6 separate regions of the Homo sapiens genome follow, and regions 2, 3, 4, 5 and 6 are each linked to region 1. Evidence: promoter capture Hi-C in 16 types of primary human blood cells and fetal thymus (Javierre and others, 2016). All regions are on one chromosome and are shown on one strand. Each heading gives the region's core, a stretch centred on a gene start or on the middle of the fragment in contact. The rest is flanking DNA. Distances are from core to core; before and after follow the strand shown.

Region 1 (4,082 bases), core at 818-3,317:
GGTTTTCGGCTGAGCTGGGGGTCAGTGCCCCTCGCCCCCAGACTGTACAGAGTCAGCTGTGTTAAGATATTAAGCACCTTCAGTACACAAGACTCTGTGCTGGTTTTCTTTTCTTTTTTTTTTTTTTTTACTCTAAATCATCAAACCCTATGAGGAAAGTCCTGTTACTTTCTCCCATTTAGCACTCTTGAAGAGGCTAATTTGCCTAAGATCAAGAGCTCGTCAGTGACTGCTGAGGTTCAAACGCAGATCTTTTTTAAGACTTGAGAACCTACAGGTTCAACCACCATTATAAAACCATCTCTGTAATCACGAGGCACCCGGAATTTGTGGAGCTTGGACTTCATCCTGAAGGGAGTGAAAACTTATGGAAGTTTTTTCCTTCCACGTTTCCCCCTTCCAGATGAATAATATACGCGTGTTCAAGATACAAAAATGCATAAAATTTGGCCAGGCATGGTGGCTTACACCTGTAATCCCAGCACTTGGGGAGGCTGAGGCGAGTGGATCACTTGAGCCCAGGAGTTCAAGACCAGCCTGGGCAATATGGCAAAACCCCGTCTCAAAACAACAAAACAAACAAACAAAAAACCCATAAAACTGAACAAGGTAGTTTGTAAGATATGGAAGTACAATGCAGATGACAATAATGACGATGGTAGCTACCACTAGGCGCTTTATTTATGCCACTCTCCTCAACACTGGATAGACTCTCACTTAATCCTCACAAGCTTATGAGGTAGGCGCTACCATCATTCGCCGTTTTACAGAGGAGGACGCTGAGGCACAGAGTGATTGAGAAACTTGTCGAAGGCACTGCAGCTGGCAAGTGGTGACGTGGCATTTGAATCCAGGCATCCGGATGGTGTGGATGCCGTGGAAGAGAAAGGGGCGGGTGGGACTGCTTCCTGAGGAGATAGTGACTGCCGAGGCAGCAGCGTAGGGAAGACAACTGAAGAACACGAGCTGTGGAGACAGACCATCGCATTCGGAGTGGAGAGATGGGTGTACAGACAGACAATAACCAGACTATATATAAAAAGAGAACTCTAGGTCAGGCGCGGTGGCTCACACCTGTAATCTTAGCACTTTGGGAGGCTGAGGCGGGTGGATCACTTGAGGTCAGGCGTTGGAGACCAGGAGTTCAAAACCCCGTCTCTACTAAAAATTTAAAAATTAGCCGGGCATGGTGGTGGGCGCCTGTAGTCCCAGCTTCTCGGGAGGCTGAGGCACGAGAATCGATTGAACCCGGGAAGCGGAGGTTGCAGTGAGCCGAGATCGCACCACTGCACTCCAGCCTGGGTGACGAGAGCGAAAAACTCCGTCTCAAAAATAAAATAAATTACTGATAATAGTACTAATACCCCTTAAGTGGCTATTGATAATAATAGTACCATGGGTGGGGGGGCAACTTCTCTGAGAGTGCTCTGTAAGTATGTATTGAAGATTGAGTAAATACATTTAAAATTCTTAGAACAGTATGTGGCACATAGCGTTCCAGAATGCCACATTATTGTTAGTGACAGAAATAATCTCGGCTGGGCGCGGTGGCTCACGCCTGTAATCCCAGCACTTTGGGGGGGCCACGGCGGGAGGCTCTCTCGAGGCCGGGAGTTCAAGACCAGCCTGGGCAACATGGCAAGACGCCGACTGTTAAAAAAAAAAAATGCTACCCGGGCGTCGTGGCGTGTGCCTGTAATCCCAGCTACTGGGGAGGAGGTGGGAGGATCGCTCGAGCCCGAGAGGTTGGTCGGGGCCTCAGTGAGCCGAAATCACGCCACTGCACTCCAGCCTGGGCGACGGAGCGAGACCCTGTCTCAGAAAGAAAAAGAAAAACCACCGTCCAGGGGCGGAGAAGGAAGGTTCTCCCTACTTCTCAGGTTTCCACTCCCTGGCCGGAAAAAACCTAGTCCTCCCAGGTTAGCACGCCGCTCTAGCCCAGCCTCACGTCTCCACTGCTTCTCAGCCAGCCAACGCCTCTTCTGATTGGCTCTGACGTGCGTGGTGCGTGAAAACGTCACGAGACGCCGGCGTTACTATAAGAGCGCAGCCGTGGCGCTTCCGCGCCTCTTTCTCAGTGACCGGGTGGTTTGCTTAGGTGAGGTGCGGTGGTGTGCTTTTTCTCTAGGGTTTGGGTTGGATGGTGGCCCGGGCCTTCCGAGTTTCCATGAGTAAGCTAAAGACGTTAGGAAACAGAGCAGGGTGGTTGAACGGGAGTGCAGCACGGTTGTGGGGGCAGATACTGACTATGAGAGCGTTGGAGGTTATTCTCGCGAGATCGGATCTGGGCTCCGCGAGGTTTTGGCGTAGTTGTGGGACTGCGCAGGCGCCGTTTGGATCCCTTACGCTCACACTTCTCTCCCGCGCAGGCGCAGACGGGGAAGCGGAGCCAACATGCCAGTGGCCCGGAGCTGGGTTTGTCGCAAAACTTATGTGACCCCGCGGAGACCCTTCGAGAAATCTCGTCTCGACCAAGAGCTGAAGCTGATCGGTGAGTGGCCAAGGCTTCCGGGAAGTGGTTCGGCTTCCGGGAGGCGGTTAGCACGTGGATGAAGGTGCCCATGTACTCTATCTAGTCCGTCCCCTAAATTTGGTACTATTCGTGGTTTAGGAAGGTTTTGTGATTCCAAAGCTGCCAGTCTAGTTGTTGTGCCAGTACGTGGGACTACACTTGTCCACCCCCTTCTCCCCACCAGGCGAGTATGGGCTCCGGAACAAACGTGAGGTCTGGAGGGTCAAATTTACCCTGGCCAAGATCCGCAAGGCCGCCCGGGAACTGCTGACGCTTGATGAGAAGGACCCACGGCGTCTGTTCGAAGGTGCGTATGGGAGTCCACAGCAGAGGGATGGGGTGCAGGGCTTGTGAGGTTCATTCTCCCTTCTGTTGCCTCTGTTCCAGTGATGAGAGTTGTGTCATTGGATAAATGGAACCAGCCTTCTAACTTTTAGTGGCACTTGTGGAGTAGGAAAAGTGTATCTGGATCAGTCTTTGCCCTGTTTCTTAGGTGTGTGGCTTTTTTGCCCAGTTATTGGACCTTCAGTTTAGTAATGACCAGAGCTAAAGATAGGCCTGGCACACCTGGGCACCCGTCTATATCTTTATATTCTGTTTATGTGGCCTGTTTGCTAGTGGATGAGAGTAGACTATGAAGTGGAATTTCTGGGCTAAGTGATGGTGATAACAGGGTTTGCACATTTGCTTGGTTTATTGTTTTTTTAATTAAGTTTTCTCGTTTTATTTAGTCTTTTGAGACGGAGTCTTGCTCTGTTGCCCAGGCTGGAGTGCCGTGGCGCCATTTCGGCTTACTGCAACCCCCGCCTCCTGGGTTCAAACAATTCTCCTATCTTAGCCTCCCAAGTAGCTGGGACTACAGACAGGCGCACGCCACCACACCTGGCTAATTTTACTTTTGAGACGGAGTCTCGCTCCATTGCCCATGCTGGAGTGTAGTTGTCGCAATCTTGGCTCACTGCAAACTCCGCCTCCAGAGTTCAAGCGATTCTCCTGTCTTAGCCTCCTAAGTAGCTGGAATCACAGGCATGGGCCACCAAGCCTGGCTAATTTTCTATTATTAGTGGAGATGGGTTTTCACCATGTTGTCCAGGCTGGTGCTTGTTTTTTTAAGCTGGTCAAGGACATTTAGGTGGTATTTAGCAAAGGCCTGAACAGGAGAGAACCTGTAAAATGTCTCAGGGAACAGCATTTCAGGTGATGACTTTAGGAGGGCATGCAGATCACATAGACTTAGGCTTACTTTACTAATTGTGGTGAAATACACATTAAATTGAAAATGTACCATCTTAACCATCTTGTTTTAAAATCTACTCTGAGATGCGGTGTTATTGGAGTGCTTTCTACAGCAGATTGGCATGACCAAGATTGGCATTTGTATATCCTGAGACGCTGCTTTTGCCTGAGTTTGGGTAGTCATGATTTATGGTGAAAAGCAGTCTCTACACCTGAGCCCTGACTGTTAGGCATGAGAGTGGTCATCCATGTTAGGCGTTGAGAAAGTCCTGGCGCATGTTTAGCTACAGATTATCACAGTTTGTCCCAGGCTTGCAGATGTTAGAAGCTTTTT
Region 2 (4,082 bases), core at 513-3,012, 1.9 Mb after region 1:
AAAATACAAAAATTAGCTGGGCATGGTGGTGCACGCCTGTAGTCCTGGCTACTCAGGAGGATGCAGCATGAGAATCACTTGAGACTGGGAGTCGGAGGTTGCAGTGAGCTGTGATCGCACCACTGCACTCCAGCCTGGGCAACACAGCCAGACCCTGTATCAAAAAACAAAACAAAACAAAACAAAAAACCAAAAAAAAAAAAAGAAAAAAGAATCAAGGGCTGCTTTTCTATTTTTGGCCTCAACATTTGGGTGAAGATGGACTTGCTTTCTAAGATGGTGGAGTAATGGGAAGGAACAAATTTCTTCGCAAGGTGGGGGAGAGAGTGAAAAATTATCTACTGCCCACCTTAGGTTTGAGATGCCTATTAAGAAATCCAAGAGGAGATGTCAAGTAGGCCATCGGATATGAGTGGGAAGAAGATCAGCGTGCTCTAGGAGCAGAAAGGAGGCATGACTGGAACTCATTAAACACGAGGAGAAGACAGTGGTAGACAGGTGGGCCAGGGCAGATTAGGCCACCGTGGGCAAACTGGTCACAAAGTTCTGAGTCAGCCACTCATCGCTTGTGAAACCTGGGGAAAGTTGTTCATTTATGAATATAAGACGAACAACTTCCATGTAATGAATGCTTGTTATGGGTAAGCCACTGTCTTCGTTTTTATGGCGCGGAGTCTTCAGATCAGCCGGGGAGGTGGAGGATGGGAGGGGGATTCTCTTATCCTTGTTGTACGGAGGAGGAAATACGCTGCGGGCTGGGGTAGGGCTTGTATGAGCCATAATCAGGTCTGGAACTGTCTAGATAAAAACTTCAGCTGATCTCTTAGGATGTCTGTCTGCTCTAAAATCCAAATATGCTTCTTCACAGTTCTGAGATGCAGAAACTGAGGCCTCAGGACGGGGCAGTAGTCTGTCCAATAGGGGCACAGCGAGGACGCGTGGCAGGTAGCGCTGTCCCCCAATTCACCCCAGGGGAAACTGAGGCTAAAGAGAGGGCGGTGTCCTGTCCAGGTTCACACACAGGAAGAGCCAAACCGAGGCCCCCGCGCTGGCCCCCTCCTGAGCCACTGCCCACCCCGGAACAGGAGGGCAGCCTGCTCACGTCCTGATTCCTGGCACCGACATCGGCCCTTAAGTTCTGCCCGGGTGGAGAGGGAGGACAAAAAAAAATGCGATCCGTAGTCAAGGAGACGTAGCCTGCACTCCTGATTGGCGCAGAACTCTAGCCTGGTCTCCTCCTCCTCCTCCTCTTCGCTTGCCAGCTTCTAGAGCTCCGGAGGCCCCACCTCCCAAATGCCCGGCGGTGCCCGGCCTCCCCTGATCTCCACAACAACGCCGCCATGGCTCCTCCTCCTCCTCCCTCTTTTTTTCCCGGCACTTCTGCGCATGTCCAGGGCCCGCGCGCAGACCACTGGGAAGCCTCCTCGTGCATTCTGGGAAATGTAGTCCAAAGCCTGTCGCGCTCAGACAGCCCGCGACATTTGCGCCGTCAAGGCCAAATAGGCTGCAGACGACGCTTTCGCGTATCTTGGGAAATGTAGTTCCAGTGTTGGCGAAGACGCCACGCGGTGACAAACAGGAGTAAGGCGGTCCCCAGGCGAGGGCCAATTGGCAGCCGCCTTTGCCGCGATGCTTCCTGGGAGTTGTAGTTCGGGGTGAGGCCGGGGCTTCATGGGGAGTTGTTGGGCTGAACGAGCGGCTCGGAGTATGGGATTGGGGGAGGGGGACGGGGGAGTTTGGCGCAAAGCCTGCTGGGGCATGGAGTCCCGGCGAGCTTTGTGCGCATGTGCGGGGAGGTGAGGGGGCTTGGGGGGCCTCGCCTGAGAGAGTGAGGTGAGCGAGGGGGGAAGGAGGGAGGGATTGGGTGGGGGCGGTTGGACGAGGGAGGGACCAGAGGTTGGATGGGAAGAGGGGCGCCGGGGGCCTCAGGAGGGAAAGATGGGAGACTTGCGGGGAGGGGAGGAGAAGGGGGCTGAGTGATGGGGAAGGGGCTGGGAGAGGGAACTAGAGGGGGAGGGACTTGGAGAGGGGGAGGGGTGGATAGTGGGAGGGGGTCGTGGATCCTCGAGGTCCTGAACGCGGGAGAGAAATGCTGAGGGAGAGGACGGGGGAGGGGCGCCTGGGGGAGGGGGAGGGGCGGGACGGGGGAGGGACAGGTGGGGGAGGGGAAGGGGACCCTAGCAGAGGGTGGGCTGTGAGATGAAAGCTGAGTGGGAAGCTGGACCCTACAAAGGAGTCTGGGGGCGCCGGGACCGGACCCCTTCGGAAAGGTTTGCGGGAAGGGGCTTCCGGGGACGATGGTTATTGTTGTAACGTAGATACGGCGCAGGTGGCTCGTTTTGCGCGCTGCTTCTACAAGTGCAACTTTTACAGAGTTGTGAGATTCCTGAAGATAAGAATCGTTGCTCTGTTTTGCTGCTTTCTCAGTGCGGAGCATCTGCCTTTTTAGCTTGTTGCAAGGCATTATTACCTTCGGTAATATGTGTAAAGTGCTTAGAAACTCTGTTTATTGTCAAATGAAGTTGACCCCCGCCACCTCTACCCCAGTCAGGATGGAGTCACCCTCCTCTATATCCGATTTTAACGCCTATTCCAATGTATACTTAGTATTTTAATCTGCGTGCGTGTTCATAGCAGTGTCCCCTGGGCACCTCGCAGGGAAACTTCGACAAAGTAACCCTAAGTCTGACTGGACACTTACTAGCCAGGTGTGGTTCTCAGCATTTTTGTTCTCCTTCTATCACTTTACAGTCAACGAAATGGAGATACAGGGTATTACAAAAGGTGCCTTGTACCTCGTCCAAGGACACAGAGCTGGTAGGAGGCAGAGCTGGAATTTGCCCCAGAGCCTTTGTGCCGTAGGTAAATATTTGTCCAGTGGGCCAGCGGCTCTCAACCAGGAGTGGTTTTGTCCCCCAGGGGACATGTGGCAATGTCTGGAGACTTTTTTTTTGGTTTTTCCAACTTGGGAAGTGCTACTGGCATCTCATGAAAAGAGGCAGAGATGCTGGTAGACATCGTATGTTGCACAGGATAGCCCGCCACGACACAAGTGCCATTAATGTCGAGGTTGGGAACCTAGAGTAGACAAACCGGTCTTTGTCGAGCACTTAGCCTTTGGAGGCTGCTTCTAACTCCTGCTCCCAGCAGCCTCTTGAGAGGAAGGAGCTCTTGTTAGTCCTGTGTCTCAGGTGGAGAAATGAAGCACAGAGGGGGTAAGTCACACGTCCACAGTCACACTGCTGATGAGTGGCAGAGCTGGAAGTTGAAGCCAGGCAGCCAGACTCCACAGCCTCTTAGCCATGATATTAACCCAGCATATGTGGGTGCTGGTGCCGGGGTACTAGGTGGAACTGGTGTGGACTCTGGAGTCACATCTGGGTCCCATTTGTGGCTCCTTCACTCTCTGAGCATCTCCCTATGGTAAGAGGGGACCCATCTCCCCAGCTCACAGGTCTGTTGGGAAGGTTGGGTGGGGCAGTATAAGACACTAGCCACTCAGTGGCTGTCTTCAAGGCATCCAGGGTGCCTGGCTCTGGACTGGACTGTGCTTTGCGGACACAGACAGCTAGACAGCAGGGTTACAGCTGTTGAATGCACATAGCACAGGGCGCTCATTGGATGGTAGGGTGGATTGACATGGTGGAAGGCCCTTACTTAACAGCATGTGCTTTCTTGGGAGCAGGCCTTGTGCTGGATGGCCCCACCGACCCAGTGAAGAGCTGGACTTGGTCACTGCCCCAGAGAGCTCACTTTCTGGACAGCCCAGGGTGTAGTGACCTGTGATCACCTCTGAGATTGCAAACAGGGTCAGCTTGATGGCCTGTGGCATTGCTCTCTGGCGGAAATTCCTCCTTAGTCCCAGAGGGATCTTTTTTATAGCAGAGCAGGCATCTGTGTGGCTTTTGAGACTTGGATCTGGCCTGGGTCTTCCGATAAGTCTTTCTGCCTGCTCCCAGGTTCATCAGCCCTTAAACTGATGGATGGGTGGGGTGGGAGGTGATGCTGTGGCCTGGCTGTGGATGTGCAAGTCCAGGCTCTGCCACGTGTTAGCTGAGTGACTTTAGGTAAGACATCTCCCC
Region 3 (4,082 bases), core at 880-3,379, 1.4 Mb after region 1:
GTCAGGCTGTTCTTGAACTCCCAACCTCAGGTGATTCACCTGCCTCGGCCTCCCAAAGTGCTGGGATTCCAGGTGTGAGCCACAGCGCCTGGCCTCTTTTTTTTTAGACGGAGTTTCGCTCTTGTCACCCAGGCTGGAGTGTAATGGCGTGATCTCAGCTCACTGCAACCTTCACCTCCTGGGTTCAAGCGATTCTCCTGCTTCAGCCTCCCAAGTAGTTGGGGTTACAAGCGTGTGCCACCATGCCCAGCTAATTTTGTACCTTTAGTAGAGATGGGTTTCACCGTGTTTGTCAGGCTGGTCTCGAACTCCTGACCTGAGGTGATCCACACACCTCGGCCTCCCTCAGGGCACTAGGCCTCGAAACAAAAGTTTTTTTTTTTTTTTTCTTTTGAGACGGAGTCTTGCTCTGTCGCCCAGGCTGGAGTGCAGTGGCGCAATCTCGGCTCACTGCAAGCTCCGCCTCCCGAGTTCATGCCATTCTCCTGCCTCAGCCTCCTGAGTAGGTGGGACTACAGGCGCCCGCCACCATGCCTGTCTAATTTTTTGTATTTTTAGTAGAGACAGGGTTTCACTGTGTTAGCCAGGATGGTCTCGATCTCCTGACCTCGTGATCCGCCCCCCTCTGCCTCCCAAAGTGTTGGGATTACAGGCGTGAGCCACTGCGCCCGGCCCACAAAAATTTCTTTACCATAGTTAGCTTTAGTTTGTGCATTTTTTTTTCCATCAACTATTATTATTACTATTTGAGACGGAGTCTCGCTGTGTCGCCCAGGCTGGAGCGTGGTGCGATCTCGGCTCACTGCAACCTCCACCTCCCCGGTTTAAGCGATTCTCCTGCCTCAGCCTCCTGAGTAGCTGGGATTACAGGTGTGCACCACCACGCCCGGCTAAATATTTTTTTAAACTGCTGATTTCATCCTATTCTATTGAATTCTCCACCCATGAACCTGTAGTTTGGAAAAGACCAATCTAGGGCAGATGGCTCCCCCTGGAATTTTTGGACCAGGCTGCAGTTAATCTGTAAAGTGGGGAGGGGAGGATCATGGTCACAGCTTTGCAGGCGGTGCAGACATTTAGATTCTCCCTCCATCGGGTTAAGACCTTGCTCTTATAAGGGCTGGCCACAGTCCAGAGCTTGGATGCTTCTGGTGAACAGGAGAGGCAGGTGGAGCTGAGCCTGAAGCTTAATAAACATCTGCTTATTCATTCATTTTTCTTGCCTATTTTGTGCCAGGCACTGTGCTAGGCCTCATTTGCTCTTCCGACCTGTTTTTTTGGGAGGAAGAACAAATCTTCCGTTCATACTCCCCAGAGTGGGAAAGAGCCTCCCAGAGGCTGCCATCATACCCCACCATCTGACCTCAAATAATACCAGCAGCGCTCCTCTCTTCAGCCCTGACGATGGCCAGGTGCTGGGCTGAGCTTCTGTGTGTCGCATCACTGCATCCTCACAATAAATTTAGAAGGGCTTGTAATTTCCCCATTTTGCAGGTGAGTTAACAGGCTGGGGAGGAGCAGGAACAGTCAGGACTGGAATCTAGCTTTGCTCCAAAGCCAGCTCTTAATTACCAACATGGGGATGGGGGTGGCGTGTTCCTGGCCCTCATTTTCCGGGAGAGGGGTAACTCCCCCGATTTTGGCCCCCACATCCCTGAGAACCTTGGGGTCTGGCTGTAGGAGGTAGGGGAGCTCTGAGGGGTCCGCGCTGGCTAGTTCCTGAGAGAGCGTTAAAAGTAGATTCTCCTTTCGCTCCAACTTTCTCGGTGTCTCAAACACTCTCCTGCCTTCTGGGCCCATTGGGCACACCGCCACCCAATCCGGGGACCCCCGGAGACTCGCCAGCTCTCCAGGATGGGAATTTCGTGATGTTCCCTGCCTGAGCTTCGGGGAGGGCGGGGGAGTGCTGTAAGGGGCTATCGCGCAAGTGCAGACCCTCTGCTTCTGCCGCAAACGGCGGGCCTCACCTGGACCCGGGGACTCTTCAACGAGGGGCGCTAGCCTGGCCCGACTGGGCGAGTCCCCGCGTCCCTGCCCGTTCCGTCGCTCAGTTCCACGACACGCTCCCCTGCCGCCCCGCCTGTTCGCGGGTGGGTGGGCGCTTCCCTCGGCTCCCCGTGACACTTTGCAGACGCTCCCCGGCGCCGGGCATGGGCGCCGCCGCCGTCGGTCCCCGAGCCGGATTCCGCGAGCGGGTGGGTGAGCGCGGGGGGCCTCGGCCCCTCGGACCCCGGGCACCCGCGGGCGGGGGATGGTGGCCGCGTTTGCACCCCCGCCCTAGTGCATGTTCCCGCTGGAATCGTTCCACGACCGCTCCCCCTCCCACCCGCGGGACAAAGGGCGGGGGCGGGGGGGGCGCACCCCCACGCGTGACCTTTCCCCGTACTGCGCACGCGCCCAGCCCCCACCACCGGGGGACGGTCCGCCCGCCCACGCGAGTGCGGGGGAGGGGTGTGGGGGCCCCGAAGGTAGAGGAGGCAGCGCGCACGGGCTGGACCTCCTCCTACCCTGGGAAGTTGGGGCAGTTTCCCCCTGCACCTGCCTCTTCCTTAGGCCTGGCAGTGGCCCGCGATGAGAGAGGGTCCTTCCCCTTCAGGCTAGGTGTCCCTGGTCAGGCGACCCCTTGGGGCACCCAGCAATTTAGGGCTTCAGCTTCCTTTTCCTTCGATACCCAGGAGCCCACGTCCCCAGCTCACTTCTCCCCCAGGACCTAGGCGGCTGGGCCCCCTGCCCCTGACTCCAGGAGCCCAGGAGTTTGAAGCCCAGGCGCGTTTTGCCTCAGTCCTGGGGTCCAGGCTCCCTCCTCCCTCAGACCAGGGGTCCAGGCCAGAAGGTCCCTCCTGTCTCACTTCACCTCCCCCAGGATGGACCCTCCAGTCCATCTGCGTCTCTCCATTTGTGGCTGCCGTTTCTGTCCAGTGCCCCTGAGGCCCTCGGCTGCTGGGGTCCGTAGGAAGCCGCGCCATGAATGACCGGAGCAGTCGGAGGCGGACAAGTGAGGAAGCTGGGTCCCCTTCCCTACCCTGGGTCCCAGTGCGGTCGGCTCCAGGCTGCCGTGGTTGGGGGGTGGCCTGAGAGGCCCGGGGAATTCTCTGGGGTAACCCGGGGCCTCTCCTCTCCAGTGAAGGACGATGAGACCTTCGAGATCTCCATTCCCTTCGATGAGGCACCCCACCTAGACCCACAGATCTTTTACAGTCTGAGCCCCTCTCGGAGAAACTTCGAGGGTGAGCTGAGGGGGTGTGGAGGGACTGGAGTCAGCTGGGAAGCCAAGCCCTGAGTCCCAGGGTGTGACCTGGTCCCCCCACCCTCGCTGTGTCCCTAGAGCCTCCGGAGGCTGCGTCCTCCGCCCTGGCTCTGATGAACAGCGTCAAGACCCAGCTGCACATGGCTCTGGAGAGGAACTCCTGGCTGCAGAAGCGCATCGAGGACCTGGAGGAAGAGAGGGACTTCCTGCGGTGCCAGCTGGACAAATTCATCTCTTCTGCTCGGATGGAGGCAGGTGTGTGTGGGGTGCTCTGATCCACATGCCTCCCTGTCCCGCTACTGGGTACCCGCTCACCCAGACTCAAGGCTCCACTGTTTGGCTGGCTGGGTGGGACCTGCCATGTTGGCCCTATCTGCTAGTCCCCTGCCTGTTTTGGGCCCCCAGGCCCAGCTGCCTCCTCACTTGATTCCAGGGCCTCATCCCCATGAACTGTCTACTGGGGCCCGTCCTCCTGCCTTCTCCGTCAGCTCCCCAAATCCCATCAGCCTCCAGTGCCCTGCCATCTGCTTCCTTGGCCCATGGTGACTTCAGGGACCCTGGCACCTGAGAGCCCCTCTCTTCTGACTCCTAGGGGGACCTTCCTTCATCTCTTTGGCCAAGAGGCCCACCCTAGTTCTTTGGGTTTCCTCAGGGGGCCCCTGCTCCTCCTCCCGTCCCTGTCTTCTCCAAGATCCAAGAGTCCAGCCATCCGGCCTCCTCCTGTCCCCCCCTCCCCTCTGTGACACCAGGGGCCATCTTCCCACCCACCCTGTCCCATCCTTGGTTAATGAGCACTCCTTCCCCATCAAAGACATTAAGTCCCTTCCTTTGTGGG
Region 4 (4,082 bases), core at 612-3,111, 1.4 Mb after region 1:
AGAGGAACTTAGGCAACTGACTTGGCTTTCCTGTGCCTCAGTTTCCCCATCTGCAAAATGGGACAGATATGCCCTATTCAGAGGGTTGATGTGAGGCTTAGCTGCTCCTGATAACAATGGCTAATGTGTCCTGAAAGCTTCTGTGTATGAACACTTTGTGGGTATTATGCTCATGGCATGTCTGGGCAAGTACGTAGAACTATGTGTCCCATTTTGCAAAAGTCTTGATTAAGGCTTAGAGAAGCGAACACCTTGCCCAAGGCCACGCAGAGAGTAAAGATTTGAACGAATGATGTCTTGACTCCAGGGCCCAGGCTCTTAACATCGCAGATATGTTTCCTCATCCAGGAATCAGGGTCAAATATCACCTGGGACCAGTCCCTTTTTTCCACTCTGGAACCCCTTCCCCACTTCTGCCAGTCAGCAGGGAGGGATGAGAGCATTCGTGAGGCCTCTATGGCTCTGGAGTTTGATGGGCTCTCCGTTTCAAGGATCACAATACTGGTCTGCACTCTCAGTTGGACTCTATCCTCTCTGGAAGGTTTTTTTTTGTGGGGAGGTGGGGAGGGGTGTTGCTCATGTTGATCTTGAACTTCTAGATCCAGAAGGAGAGTTAGGGAGGCATAGGGATGTCTGGTGGAGCTCAGGGAAGTGCCTGTTTATCAGCTGATACAAGATCATCTCACTGTTTTACCCACCAGCATAGCTAAAATTGTGTATCTGGATGAATGTCAAACACACCTTTGTCAAGAGACTTGGAGAGAGGGATGGGCGAGGTGTTGGGGGACACAGGGGTGCTCTAGACCCTGTGAGCACTGACTCTGCCCCTCTCTCCTCTTAGCTGGCTCCAGTGCCCAGACCCAAGCCCCCCACTGCTCAATGGACACCCCCAGCCCAGACCCGTTGCCTTCGCCTTTGCCCGGGGAGGAAGAGAAACCTCTGGCCTTATCTCCTCCTGTTCCCCGGGGCCGCCGAGGCCGTCGTCCTGGGGGAGCCACCTCCTCAAATCGGACACTCAAGGCCTCCCTCCCTCGCAAGCGGGGCCGCCCCCCCAAGTCAGGGCAGGAGCCCCCACTGGTGCAGGTGCAGGGGGTGACAGCCCCAGTAGGCAGCAGTGGCGGGAGCGACCTCCTCCTGATCGATGATCAGGGTGTGCCCTATACGGTCTCTGAAGGTTCAGCGGCTGGGCCTGAGGGCTCTGGCCCCAGGAAGGCCCCACACTTCTGCCCGGTGTGCCTGCGGGCCTTCCCCTACCTCTCCGACCTGGAGCGCCACAGCATCTCGCACTCAGAGCTGAAGCCGCACCAGTGCAAGGTTTGCGGCAAGACCTTCAAGCGCTCCAGCCACCTGCGGCGGCACTGCAACATCCATGCCGGCCTGCGGCCCTTCCGCTGCCCGCTGTGCCCCCGCCGCTTCCGCGAGGCGGGCGAGCTGGCGCACCACCACCGCGTGCACTCGGGGGAGCGCCCGTACCAGTGCCCCATCTGCCGGCTGCGCTTTACAGAGGCCAACACGCTCCGGCGCCATGCGAAGCGCAAGCACCCGGAGGCCATGGGGGTACCCCTGTGTGCACCAGATCCAGGGTCTGAACCGCCGTGGGACGAGGAGGGCATCCCGGCCACAGCAGGGGCCGAGGAGGAGGAGGAGACAGAGGGGAAAGGGGAGCCGGCCTGACCCACACCCCCGGCCATCGCTCCCTGGGCCAGGTTTAGAGCAGGGAGTTTGGCTGGTGCTGGGCCTGAGCCAGGGGGCCGGGACACCCTTGTTTCCGGTGGTCTTCCCGTTGTGGGAGCAGGTGGAGGGTGGAGACCTAAACTTTGGGGTCCAGCTGCCTTCAGCCCCCCTCCCCCAGACTAACAGACCCTTGGAGGCAGGGGCTGTGGAAATAAATCTCTGCCTGCTGGCTGCCTGTGTGTGTTCCGTGCCGGGATGCCATCCTCTCCTGCCTTCAAATGTTCTTCCTCGGCTACACCGTCCTGTCGGGAGTGCGGGGAATTGGAGAGGACCCCACTTCCTGTGCCTCATGAGCGTGGTGCTCGCCAAAGAATGGTTTTGGGGGGAACCTTGGCCCCTTCCCCATCTCCATCAGACCCCAAAGTCCATGGGTCCCTCGGAGTCCGCGGGGAATTGGTTCCACGAACCTCGCAGATACCAAGATCTGGGCATACACAAGTCCAGCAGTGGGCCCTGCGGAACCCGCGGATGTAGGAAAATCCGCCCTTCGTATACTGTATGTTCCACCGGTGTTTGGGTGAAAAAACGTCCGCCTCTCAATGGACCTGCAGTTCAAACCCCTGTTGTTCAAGGGTCAGCTGTATTCCCAGTACACATCCAATCTAACTAAAAACATTGAACCTTCCATGCAGACCTGACTGTAGGTCCGACCGCCTCTCTCCTAGCCAATTCCCAGAAATTCTGCAGCCACTTTGCCCCACCTCCTTGTCCTGAGGACCTACTGTTTGGAAGGAAAAATTAAGACAAAGGTATGAGCAGGACGGTCTGGGTAAGGTTTAGAGATAAGGGGTGTGGATTGGGGCGGGGCTAAGGAGCGAGGGGTGGGGCTGAGATTGCGGGGCAGTTAGGCTGGGACCTGGGGCGGGGGCTTAGAAGAGGGTTAGAGTTGGGTGGGGCTTAAAGAGGTTTAGGGGTTGGTCCGCAGAAAGTGAGAGCGGTTTAAAGAGGATGGATAGAGTTGATCTAATAGAGAGTAGGGGCTTGGAGCTGGGGAAGAACAGGAGGAACTGCGTGAGAGTGGGGCAAGGAGGACGGATAATTTTTTTTTTGAGACAGGGTCTCGCTCTGTCATCCAGGCTGGAGTGCAGTGGCCCTATCACCGCTCACTGCAGCCTCGACCTGCCAGGCTCAAGCGACCCTCCTGCTTCAGCCTCCGGAGTAGCTGAGACTACAGACGGGCGCCAGCATATTTAGCTAATTTTTTTTTTTTGAGACGGAGTCTTGCTGTCGTCCAGGCTGGAGTGCAGTGGGGCAATCTGGCTCACTGCAACCTCTGCCTCCCGGGTTCAAGCAGTTCTCTCCCTCAGCCTCCCGAGTAGCTGGAATTACAGGCGCCCGCCACCACGCCTGGCTAATTTTTGTAATTTTAGTAGAGACGGGGTTTCACCATCTTGGCCAGGCTGGTCTTGACCTCCTGACCTCGTGATCCACCCGCCTCGGCCTCCCAAAGTGCTGGGATTACAGGCGTGAGCCACCGCGTCCAGCCTAATTTTTGTATTTTTTTTTTTTGTAGAGACGGGGTTTTGCCATATTGCCCAGGCTGGTCTTGAACTCCTGTGCTCAAGCAATCCGCCTGCCTTGGCCTCCCAAAGTGCTGGGATTACAGGCGTGAGCCACCACGCCAGGCCAAGAGAACGGATTTTAAGGTGAGGGGCGGAGCTTATAATAATTCAGCTCTGAGGTGGGCGTGGTTCAGGGCCGAGGGCCGGGGGCCGGGGCTTAAAGGAGAAACTCTGAGGGAACAGGGTATTGGAGGTGGGACTTAGAAGGTGCTGATGGGGGCGCACGACTGCTATGGAGGCGATGGGGAGAGAAGGAAGTACTTAATCTAAGGGAAGTTCCTGGGAGAGTGGAAGCTTAGCAGGAGGGGCTGAATGGGTCTGGGTTTGGCTGTTTGGGATGGGGCTGAGTTGGGAGCCGGGATTATAGCGATTATATGAGCGGGCAGTGTCAAGTGTGGTAAATCCATGGCTCTTGACCAGCATGCAGCAGAATCAGAGTATTTCAAAACACGGATCCCTAGACCCCCAACCCCAGGGCTTCTATTCCGCATGGTCTGAGCAGGCAGCCGGATGCTGCTGGCCTCCCAACTATCCTTGACAACCACCGATTTAAAAGAATGCTTTAGAGGTGGGAGGCACTCAAAAGTCACGAGGTGCAACTTAAATGCTATGGGGTGAAGGGGCGGGGCTTGGATGGAGGGGGCGGGGCCTAGGGAGGGGTGAAGTTCCAGAGAGTGGGAGCTTGGAGAGGGGGAAGAACAGGAGAAACTGCATGAGGGCGAGGGGACGAAGACAGACTTTGAGGCAGTAGGGGGCTTATAATCACGCTGTGAGATGGGCGTGGTT
Region 5 (4,082 bases), core at 558-3,057, 1.3 Mb after region 1:
GCTGTACTGCCCAGGCTGGGTGTCCCATCCCTTTTGTAATGCCTCTGCGTGGGCAGGTAAATGAGGGGGGCTGAGCTGAGGGCCCCTTTCACTACTGCAGAGACCAAAATGGCCCGAGGCAAGGGGGACGGAAGTGGGATCCGCACCTCTGGGCTTTCCTAGCCTGGCAGCCAGCTGGGCAGTGCATTCCCATCCACGTCTCCACCCTGCATGGCAGCCGCTTTGTGTGGTTAATGCTGACGTGAAAGGAATGTTGGGCTGAGCTGGATGCCAAGGGTTTTTACACGCACGAATGCACGGAGACATCAGCACCAAGACCCTGTAAGGTAGGGGTGGGTCCACACCACCGCAGATCAGCCCTGAGTTCCAGCCTGCTTGTGGACTTGGGAAACGGTGTGGGAGGCTGGAAAAATCCACTCATTCAACAAACAAGTACCGTCTGCTTCTCCATCAGGGCCCATGCTGGTTGTTTGGAATACCTGGGCAGCAAAGACACGAAAGGTCCTCGCTGTCATGGGACATAGATAAATGTCGCTGAGCATGTAAGAGGGACACCACCTAGCACAGGAGGCTTTCCAGTGGGATCTTGCTGGGCAGGGATGGGTTAAGGGTAGAAGGGCCTTCTGGCCTGAGAAACAGCATGCAGAATGGTCTTCAAGCTGAGGGTACTGCCTTTGAGCAGTGGCTCTCAACTAGTGAACATGTGGCAATGTCTGGAGATATTCTTTTTGTTGTTGTTGTTTTTTTTTTTTAACACAGAGTCTCACTCTGTCACCCTGGCTGGAGTGCAGTGGCACGATCTTGGCTCACTGCAACCTCCGACTCCTGGGCTCAAGCGATCCTCTTGCCTCAGCCTCCTGAGTAGCTGGGGTTACAGGTGCCTGCCACCATGCCCGGCTAATTTTTGTATTTTTAGTAGAGACGGGGTTTCACCATGTTGGCCAGGCTGGTCTTGAACTCTTGACCTCAAGTGATCTGCCTGCCTCAGCCTCCCAAAGTGCTGGGATTACAGGTGTGAGCCACCGCGAAAATCTCTATCTGGAGATATTCTGAGCTCTCCTACGGGGTGTGTGGAGCGGGGCTGGGGATGCTACCTGCATCTAGTGAGTGGGGGCCCTAGAGTGTGTAGGACAGTCCCCGCTGCAATGAATCCATCCCAAATGGCACTAGTGCTCTGGTTGAGAAACTGCGTTTAATGACCCTCAGAAAAGCCAGTGTGGCTGGAACGCTGGGTTGGGCGGGGGTTGAGCGTGGAGAGGGGCTTTGGAGCAGCTCGGTCTCCCACTAAAACCCTAGGCCCCACAAGGAGTCTGTGGATTCCAGCCTCCCAGAACAGACCTTTGCCCAGCAGGAACCAGGTTTCTGCAGCGTCTGGATGAGCGTGCACGAAGCACACGCCCGAAAATCCTGAGCACGTGGCTCTACCGAGGGACTGGAAGCGCTCCAGGCCTCGTTTTCCCGCTGGAGCGATTACACCCTGGGGGCGGGGCCCGCTTCACGGGAGGGATTTTTGTACAACCGTGGTGCATGGAAGGATTTTTTTGCAGATGAGAGGGAATCGGGATTAATAAGGGGAACTTGCGACCCCGCGTCTCGAGCTGGCCGTCCCTGGCCTTGGGCTCACCGGGGCCTCGGCCCCCAAGACCTGACAACTGGAGTCCGCGACCACAACTGGGAGAACTACAACTCCCAGGATGCCGCGCACCGCCTGCGCCCGAGCTCGACGAGGCCTCGCACAGCCAATGGGAGGGTCCGGGGGCGGGAACTCGGAGTACGTGCGTTGTGACGCACCGACGGCGACGTCGGGGTTTGTGTGCGCGAGAGGCCGCCGATAAAGGTTGGGTGCCTCGCGCCGGGGGCCGTTGGGAGGGAGTGCGCCCCTGCCCCCCCTCCCCGGTCCCCACAGCTGCACCGCCGCTGCCGGGGCCCCACCTTCCCGTCGACCCCCGCGGGAAGGTCCTGGGGCTGCCACCCTCGTTCCCCCGATTGGGGCCGCAGGTGAGAGACCGGAGGGGGTGGGGGTGGGGGGAGGGACCGGAGGGCGGAGAAGTTGCAGGGGGTGGGGCGGGGGGGGGGGCGTGAAACCGGAAGGGGTACCTTAAAGGGGAGTCACTATTTCACCTCCGACATTTGCCAGCTAGGCCGGGTCCGCCCTCTTAAAGGGCAAGGGGCCACATTGAGAGGGCGGGTCAGGCTTTGCATTTTTACAGAAGCTTTCTGACTTAAAACAATGTTTTTCCCCTAAAAGGCGGTTATCTCATTAAAGGCCAGTGACCGTTTCCCAGACATTGAAGCAAAAACTCCTGAGTCCTGGTTGCTTCAAAGCGATCCCTGGTTTAGCTCAACAAAAGTGGAGATGGGGCTCCAGTGGCAGCATCCCCTTAAAGGGGAGGTCCAGCCTGCTGAACGGGTGTGGCGCGGCCTTTTAAAGGGGATGTCTTCTTGTTAAATGGGACCCCGCTCTTTCAGGGCACGGATATCTCTTTTAAGGAGATGCTGGGGCTTCTCAAAGGCACGTGCAGCTTCTTAGCATCAGTAGGTTTGTTTTTTTTTTTTTTTTTTTTTTCTGGAGACGGAGTCTTGCTCCGTTGCCCAGGCTGGAGTGCAGTGGCGCGATCTAACCTGCTTACATATTAAAGGGTACACTTATCTTTTAAAAAGGAAGTTCTTGGCTAGGCGCGGTGGCTCACGCCTGTAATCCCAGCACTTTGGGAGGCCGAGGCGGGCGGATCACTTGAGGCCAGGAGTTCAAGACCAGCCCAGGCAATATGGTGAAACCCCGTCTCTACTAAAAATACAAAAATTAGCCGGGCGCGGTGGCGTGCACCTGTAATCCCAGCTACTCGGGAGGCTGAGGCAGGAGAATCGCTTGAAGCCGGGAGGCGAAGGTTGCAGTGAGCCGAGATCGCGCCACTGCACTCCAGCCTCGGTGACAGAGTGAGACCCTGTCTCCAAAAAAAAACAAAAAAAACACACAAGTTCTTGTAGCTTGTCCGACGGGGATGCCTAGCCTTCATTCATTTAAAATTTGTTTACTGCGCACACACTCTGCCAGACATTATTGTAGGCACTGGGATGGCATACAACAGTGAACCAGACAGAAGCCCCTATTTTCCCGGCGTTGACATTCTAGCATGGGGAGGCAGAATAAAACAGAAAGCACACTGGTTATATAGTAGCGGTTCTCATCTGGGGGCAACGGTGCTCCCCAGGGGCGACACTGCGGCTAAGACTCGGAGGTGCAGGAGTGAGCTTTGTGGACAGCGTAGAGGAGGGCTTCATAGGCCAATGTCAGGCGTCCAGTGGGTCGAGGCCGGGGGCCAGGGCTGCTGCTCGACACCCTGCAGTGCACAGGACAGCCCTCAACAGAGAATGGTCTGGCCCCACATCTCAGCACTGCTGAGGCTGAGAATCCTGGTACATTAGAAGGTGATAATTGCTGCGGGGGAAAAATAAGGCAGGAAAAGGGAATGGGGAGTTGGAAGGGATTGTAGATTTAAATAGGGCTGTCAGGGAAGCTCTTGCAGAGGGGATTTCAGCGAAGACTCGGAGGTGAAAGAGCGAGTGGCGGGCACAGGTGGAAAGGAAGGGGGTGGTTCTAGGCAGGTGCCCTGAGGTGGGAGCAGGCGTGCCTGGCCATCCTGGGTGACCAGAGTGACCAGGGGCAGGTGGCCAGTGAGGATAGCAGTAGGACAAGTCAGGGAGGGGACAGGCTGCAGGAAGTCGGCAGGCTCGAAGACCAGAACTGTGGCAGATTTCTGAGTACAGGAATGCAATGCCCAGCCCTCCCTGTTGACGGGTTCGCTTCAGTTGCTGTATTGGGAACAGACGGGTGGGCAGGGCACGGGTGGAAACACGGCGATCCGTGGGGAGGCTGTTGCAGCTGCCTGGGAGAGAGACAGTGGTGCCTCAGATCAAGGTGGAGGCCTGTGAGAAGTGGCCAGATCTTGGATATGTTCCGCCTGGAAGGGGAATCTGCGGACAGGGGCAATCGAGAGAGAGGAGGCGAGGAGCCTTTGGCCTGAGGAAGAAGACGGCTGCCATTTTCAGAGATGGAGAAGCTATGGGTGGAGTAGAAGTTG
Region 6 (4,082 bases), core at 920-3,419, 1.1 Mb after region 1:
GAGCCCCCCTCCCCTGGAATCCTTGGAGAGGGAGCAGGTGCTGGGATCCCTCCCCTGCCCTCCCTCCCGTCACCCGCCTCCAGGCTGCCTGGGGCTTCACCCGGAGCCTCCTGACCACTCCCGAAGGCTGCCGGGGAGGCAGGGGGCGGAGACCGAGGCTGGGTCGAGGTGGGGGTGGAGGGCGGGACCTCGGGCTGGCGGGAAGCTTTGACTTTTCCTCCTTGAGGGCTAGAGGTGAAGCGGCTCCCCACGGTGCTAAGCCTTTAGGGTGATCCCGGCTGCCAATCAGTCAGCCTTCTCTGGGCCCAAAGAGATGTGTGTGTGTAGGGGGTCTCTGTACATATGGGCAGGGGCATCTGCGTGTGTCAGTCTGAGTGTGCATGGGTGTGCATGTGGGGGTTGTGTGTTTAGGGGGGATCTGTGTCTGCGCTGCGGAGCAAGAGCAAGAGCTAAGGCGATGGCTGACATGGCTCTGGGCTTTCCCTACTCTCAGAAGTACTTGTTGCATTCCATCTTCGCCAGCGGCCTGGTGAAGTCAGCACTGCTTTTCTCCCCATTTTGCAGATGAGATCGTGGGGCTCACCAGCGTCCCCCATGGCTTCTGAGTAGCGTGGGAGTGGAGTCAGCACCAAGCCAGGCTCCCCGCGCCTGCCTTGCCCTCACCTGCTCCTGCTCTCTGCCAGAGGCAGCATGGTCCGCAGGGCACCATGGGGCCCGACAGAGTGACAGCACGAGAACTGTGCGAGAACGACGACCTGGCCACCAGCCTCGTCCTGGACCCCTACCTCGGTTTCCGCACCCATAAGATGAACGTCAGGTGAGGTGGCCTGGGGGCGAGGGTGGGCCCGAGGGGTCAGGACCCCTCCCCTTGCACCGCTGCCGCCCCTCGGCCCTCTCCTTAGCCTGGTCCTCCCCTCAGCTCCAAGTGGGGGTTGGGGCCGGGGCCCGGGAAGGCCCTGGGACCCAGGCATGCCCTCTCCCCCAGCCCTGTGCCCCCCCTGCGGCGACAGCAGCACCTGCGCTCAGCGCTGGAAACTTTCCTGAGGCAGCGGGACCTGGAGGCTGCGTACCGGGCCCTGACGCTGGGAGGCTGGACGGCCCGCTACTTCCAGAGCCGGGGCCCGCGGCAGGAGGCTGCCCTCAAGACCCACGTGAGGGCGCCCTCCCCTCCCCCGCCCTCACCGCGTGTCCTCCCCGCTCACCGGGCCTGGTCCCGCCTGGCAGACGCTCTAGAGTCCCTCAGCGCAGCCCCTGGGGCCCCCTGACTTCCTAGCCCTTGGGACCATCTGAGGCAAGGCTCAGAGAATCCTAGGAGAGGAGAGTTGGGGGGGCCCTCTGAGATGTAGTCCAACCTCTTCATTTGACGGATGAGGAAACTGAGGCCCCGAGAGGGAACATGAGGCCCCCAAGACCACACAGTGAGTCAGTGGCATGGCAGGCCTAGAGTCCTGGAGAGAGAGGGCCAAAGATGCCCCTGCCCCGCCTCCTCACCCCCACCCTCACCCTCACCAGGTCTATCGCTACCTCCGTGCCTTCCTGCCGGAAAGTGGCTTTACCATCCTGCCCTGCACGCGCTACTCCATGGAGACCAACGGGGCCAAGATCGTGTCCACTCGTGCTTGGTAAGAGGGCAGGACTCCCTGCAGGTATCCTTGGAGGAGACAGAGCTCAGAGGGGACAAGAGAGACCCTCTGTTCATGGACTGGCCAACCGGGGAAAAGCGAGGGGCCTGGTCCTCCGGGCATCCTAGGAAGGTGGTGGGGCTAATCCCGGAAGACCTTTGTGGCTACCGTGGTGCCGCTGGAGCAGGAGACCCCGGATGTGACCCCAGGGTTCCTGGGGCTTCCAGGAAAGAACTAGGCTTCTGGTCAGGGCCGTGCTGTCCTTACCTCCTTGTGACCTGAGCCCCCACCACATGTTAAACACCCCTGAGTGCAATGAGGAGCCCCTGCCCCTGCCCCTGCGGGGTTCACAGTCTGGTGAGGAGGTGGGGGGCAGACAAGTCAACATGCAGTCACTGGTCCCAGCTGGTACATGCTGCAGGGGAGCTGTGAGGAATGAGCAAGTGCTCCCAGGGCGAGGCTCACACTGACAGGGGAAGCACCCGCCTGAGGGTCTGGTGGGGCGAGTAGGGGGTAGTCCAGGCAGGAGGGATTTGGGGGCAGGAGGTGCTATGAGAGCGAGGGGAGAGAATGGGGGCTGTATCTGCTGTGTGCGTGCTGCCCTGAAGGCTTTCAGTAGAAGGGTCCTGTGGGGCTGTGGGCTGGAGCAGGGAAGCCCACCCAGGCAGGAGGGGAAGAGGGAGATCTGGAAGATGGATCGCCAATAGCCAGCACCAGCGCCCAGGAGTCCCTCCTTCCTGGGTGCCTCTGTGCCGGAGGCCCGAGTCCCCTGAACACCTGCAGGAGGCCAGGCATCGCCCACAGCCCTGCCCCCTGGCCTCTTGGCAGGAAAAAGAATGAGAAGCTGGAGCTGCTGGTGGGCTGCATTGCAGAGCTGCGGGAGGCAGATGAGGGGCTGCTGAGGGCCGGTGAGAATGACTTCAGCATCATGTACTCAACCCGCAAGCGGAGTGCTCAGCTGTGGCTGGGCCCAGCCGCCTTCATCAACCATGGTGAGGGTCAGGCAGGTGGATGGGCAGGACGGGATAGAGCCAGGCAGGGCTGGAGGGGTGTAGTGGGAGGGTTCTGCGACTGAGCTGCCGAGCTCATCTACCTCTCTTCTCTCTCCTGCCCCAACTGGCTCCAGACTGCAAACCCAACTGCAAGGTAAGGCCTTGGGACTCGGGAGGAGAGGGCACGCAGGAAGAAAGGGTGCCTGTGGCCTGGGGAAAGGGTTTTTGGTCAGTAAAGAGCCAAACACCGGCCGGGCGCGGTGGCTCATGCCTGTAATCCCAGCACTTTGGGAGGCCGAGGTGGGCAGATCACGAGGTCAGGAGATGGAGACCACGGTGAAACCCCATCTCTACTAAAAACACAAAAAATTAGTCGGGCGTGGTGGCGGGCGCCTGTAGTCTCAGCTACTTGGGAGGCTGAGGCAGGAGAATGGTGTGAACCCGGGAGGCGGAGCTTGCGGTGAGCCGAGATCGCGCCACTGCACTCCAGCCTGGGCCACAGAGCGAGACTCTGTCTCAAAAAAAAAAAAAAAAAAGAGCCAAATGCTGCCCCATGTCTCCATGGCTTCCCACGGGTCCTGGAAGGGGCAGAGTGGGTATTTGCTCACAAGGCTACCAGAAAGGAGGAAGGGGTTCCAGTTTGGCCAGCGTTGCCCGGCTGTTTGTGCAGTTGCACTGGAACCCTGGTTGCCAGCTGCTGGCCATCTTTCTTCTCTGAAAACCGAGCTGGGAGCTGTGCCAATTTGGGCAGGGAGTGTGGCAGGGAGGCAGGGCCCTGTGGTGGGAGCCCCCGGCCTTGCAGGGAACAACGCAGGCAGCTGTGGTGGCAGGAGCAGGGAGGCCAGAGAGCCCCAGGGGCCAGGACTCAGGATGCTGTCCAGACATGCCCAGGAGAGGCCGCTGGTTGTCCTGTAGCCCGGAAGCAGAAGGAATCAGGAGGGTTGGCTCCAGGGCGGCATTGAGGGTGCACCCTCTGGAGCACAGACCTCGATGGGGCACCCCGGGAGGCATGACAAAGGGATCCAGATTTTTGGCTCCAGAGTCAGAACTGAGTTGGGGTCCTGGCGATGCCACCCCTGGCCTTTGGTTTTTCATCTCAGATGGGGTTGGTGAGGATCTCTGGAACTCTGCGGGCTGGTCAAGTGTGCCGGAGGGTTTTGGACAGCGAATGCGTGGCCCTGGTCTGACACCACACACAGACGCTGGGGGGGATGGAAACAAAAGGCGGCATTCGGAGAGGCTCTGCAGGGCCAGTGTGCTCCAGCCACCTTGAGCACACGAGAGGGCGGCCAGCTCTCCAGCGATCTAGAACCATCTGGCTTCACAGAAGCCATGCTGGGCATCGACGGAGGAGTAGAATTTCCCTAGGTGTTAAAGGAAATCAGGGGCAAAGGGGGGCGTCTAGCAGGACACGGCACACCAGAGGGCTGGGGGTGCCCAGCGACGGCTTTGATCCGGCAGCAAGGCC

The links. Contacts are between HindIII fragments. The CHiCAGO score rates a contact against its expected background, and 5 or more counts as called.
Region 2: a contact is called between the fragment with the promoter of ZNF444 here and the fragment with the promoter of RPS9 in region 1, in 1 of 17 cell types (total CD8 T cells). The highest score is 5.6, in total CD8 T cells.
Region 3: a contact is called between the fragment with the promoter of CCDC106 here and the fragment with the promoter of RPS9 in region 1, in 3 of 17 cell types (total CD8 T cells, naive CD8 T cells and total CD4 T cells). The highest score is 6.1, in total CD8 T cells.
Region 4: a fragment that was not itself captured here is called in contact with the fragment with the promoter of RPS9 in region 1 in 1 of 17 cell types (naive CD8 T cells); the score reaches 8.0 in naive CD8 T cells.
Region 5: a contact is called between the fragment with the promoter of ZNF628 here and the fragment with the promoter of RPS9 in region 1, in 2 of 17 cell types (naive CD8 T cells and total CD8 T cells). The highest score is 5.6, in naive CD8 T cells.
Region 6: a contact is called between a fragment that was not itself captured here and the fragment with the promoter of RPS9 in region 1, in 1 of 17 cell types (erythroblasts). The highest score is 5.2, in erythroblasts.

Annotation. Positions count from the first base shown.
Region 1 is chr19:54,198,791-54,202,872 of GRCh38, forward strand. RPS9 (ribosomal protein S9) reads left to right here and starts at 2,068. Exons shown (of 5, transcript NM_001013.4): 1 at 2,068-2,098; 2 at 2,370-2,491; 3 at 2,697-2,819. The coding sequence starts at 2,395. RefSeq lists an enhancer at 1,456-2,125 and a silencer at 1,888-2,381. The HindIII fragment of the contact is 3,345 bases long and covers 730-4,074 here.
Region 2 is chr19:56,139,525-56,143,606 of GRCh38, forward strand. ZNF444 (zinc finger protein 444) reads left to right here and starts at 1,763. Exons shown (of 5, transcript NM_018337.4): 1 at 1,763-1,833. RefSeq lists enhancers at 1,226-1,555, 1,586-1,725. The HindIII fragment of the contact is 17,292 bases long and covers 1-4,082 here.
Region 3 is chr19:55,646,083-55,650,164 of GRCh38, forward strand. It overlaps CCDC106 (coiled-coil domain containing 106), which reads left to right and starts at 2,130. Exons shown (of 5, transcript NM_001370470.1): 1 at 2,130-2,995; 2 at 3,123-3,227; 3 at 3,326-3,502. The coding sequence starts at 2,965. RefSeq lists silencers at 2,206-2,325, 2,356-2,485 and an enhancer at 3,546-3,595. The HindIII fragment of the contact is 17,145 bases long and covers 1,185-4,082 here.
Region 4 is chr19:55,601,234-55,605,315 of GRCh38, forward strand. It overlaps ZNF524 (zinc finger protein 524), which reads left to right. Exons shown (of 2, transcript NM_153219.4): 2 at 842-1,905. The coding sequence starts at 880. The coding sequence ends at 1,674. Among named protein-coding and RNA genes, the nearest start is that of ZNF865, 2.4 kb to the right of the region's middle. RefSeq lists enhancers at 1,382-1,932, 3,036-3,587, 3,588-4,082. The HindIII fragment of the contact is 3,453 bases long and covers 136-3,588 here.
Region 5 is chr19:55,474,810-55,478,891 of GRCh38, forward strand. ZNF628 (zinc finger protein 628) reads left to right here and starts at 1,808. Exons shown (of 3, transcript NM_033113.3): 1 at 1,808-1,998. RefSeq lists silencers at 1,874-2,073, 2,206-2,529. The HindIII fragment of the contact is 2,239 bases long and covers 1-2,211 here.
Region 6 is chr19:55,341,230-55,345,311 of GRCh38, forward strand. It overlaps KMT5C (lysine methyltransferase 5C), which reads left to right. Exons shown (of 9, transcript NM_032701.4): 2 at 565-817; 3 at 986-1,151; 4 at 1,513-1,622; 5 at 2,451-2,614; 6 at 2,749-2,768. The coding sequence starts at 708. Among named protein-coding and RNA genes, the nearest start is that of KMT5C, 3.4 kb to the left of the region's middle. RefSeq lists a silencer at 44-223 and enhancers at 2,607-3,411, 3,412-4,082. The HindIII fragment of the contact is 3,932 bases long and covers 204-4,082 here.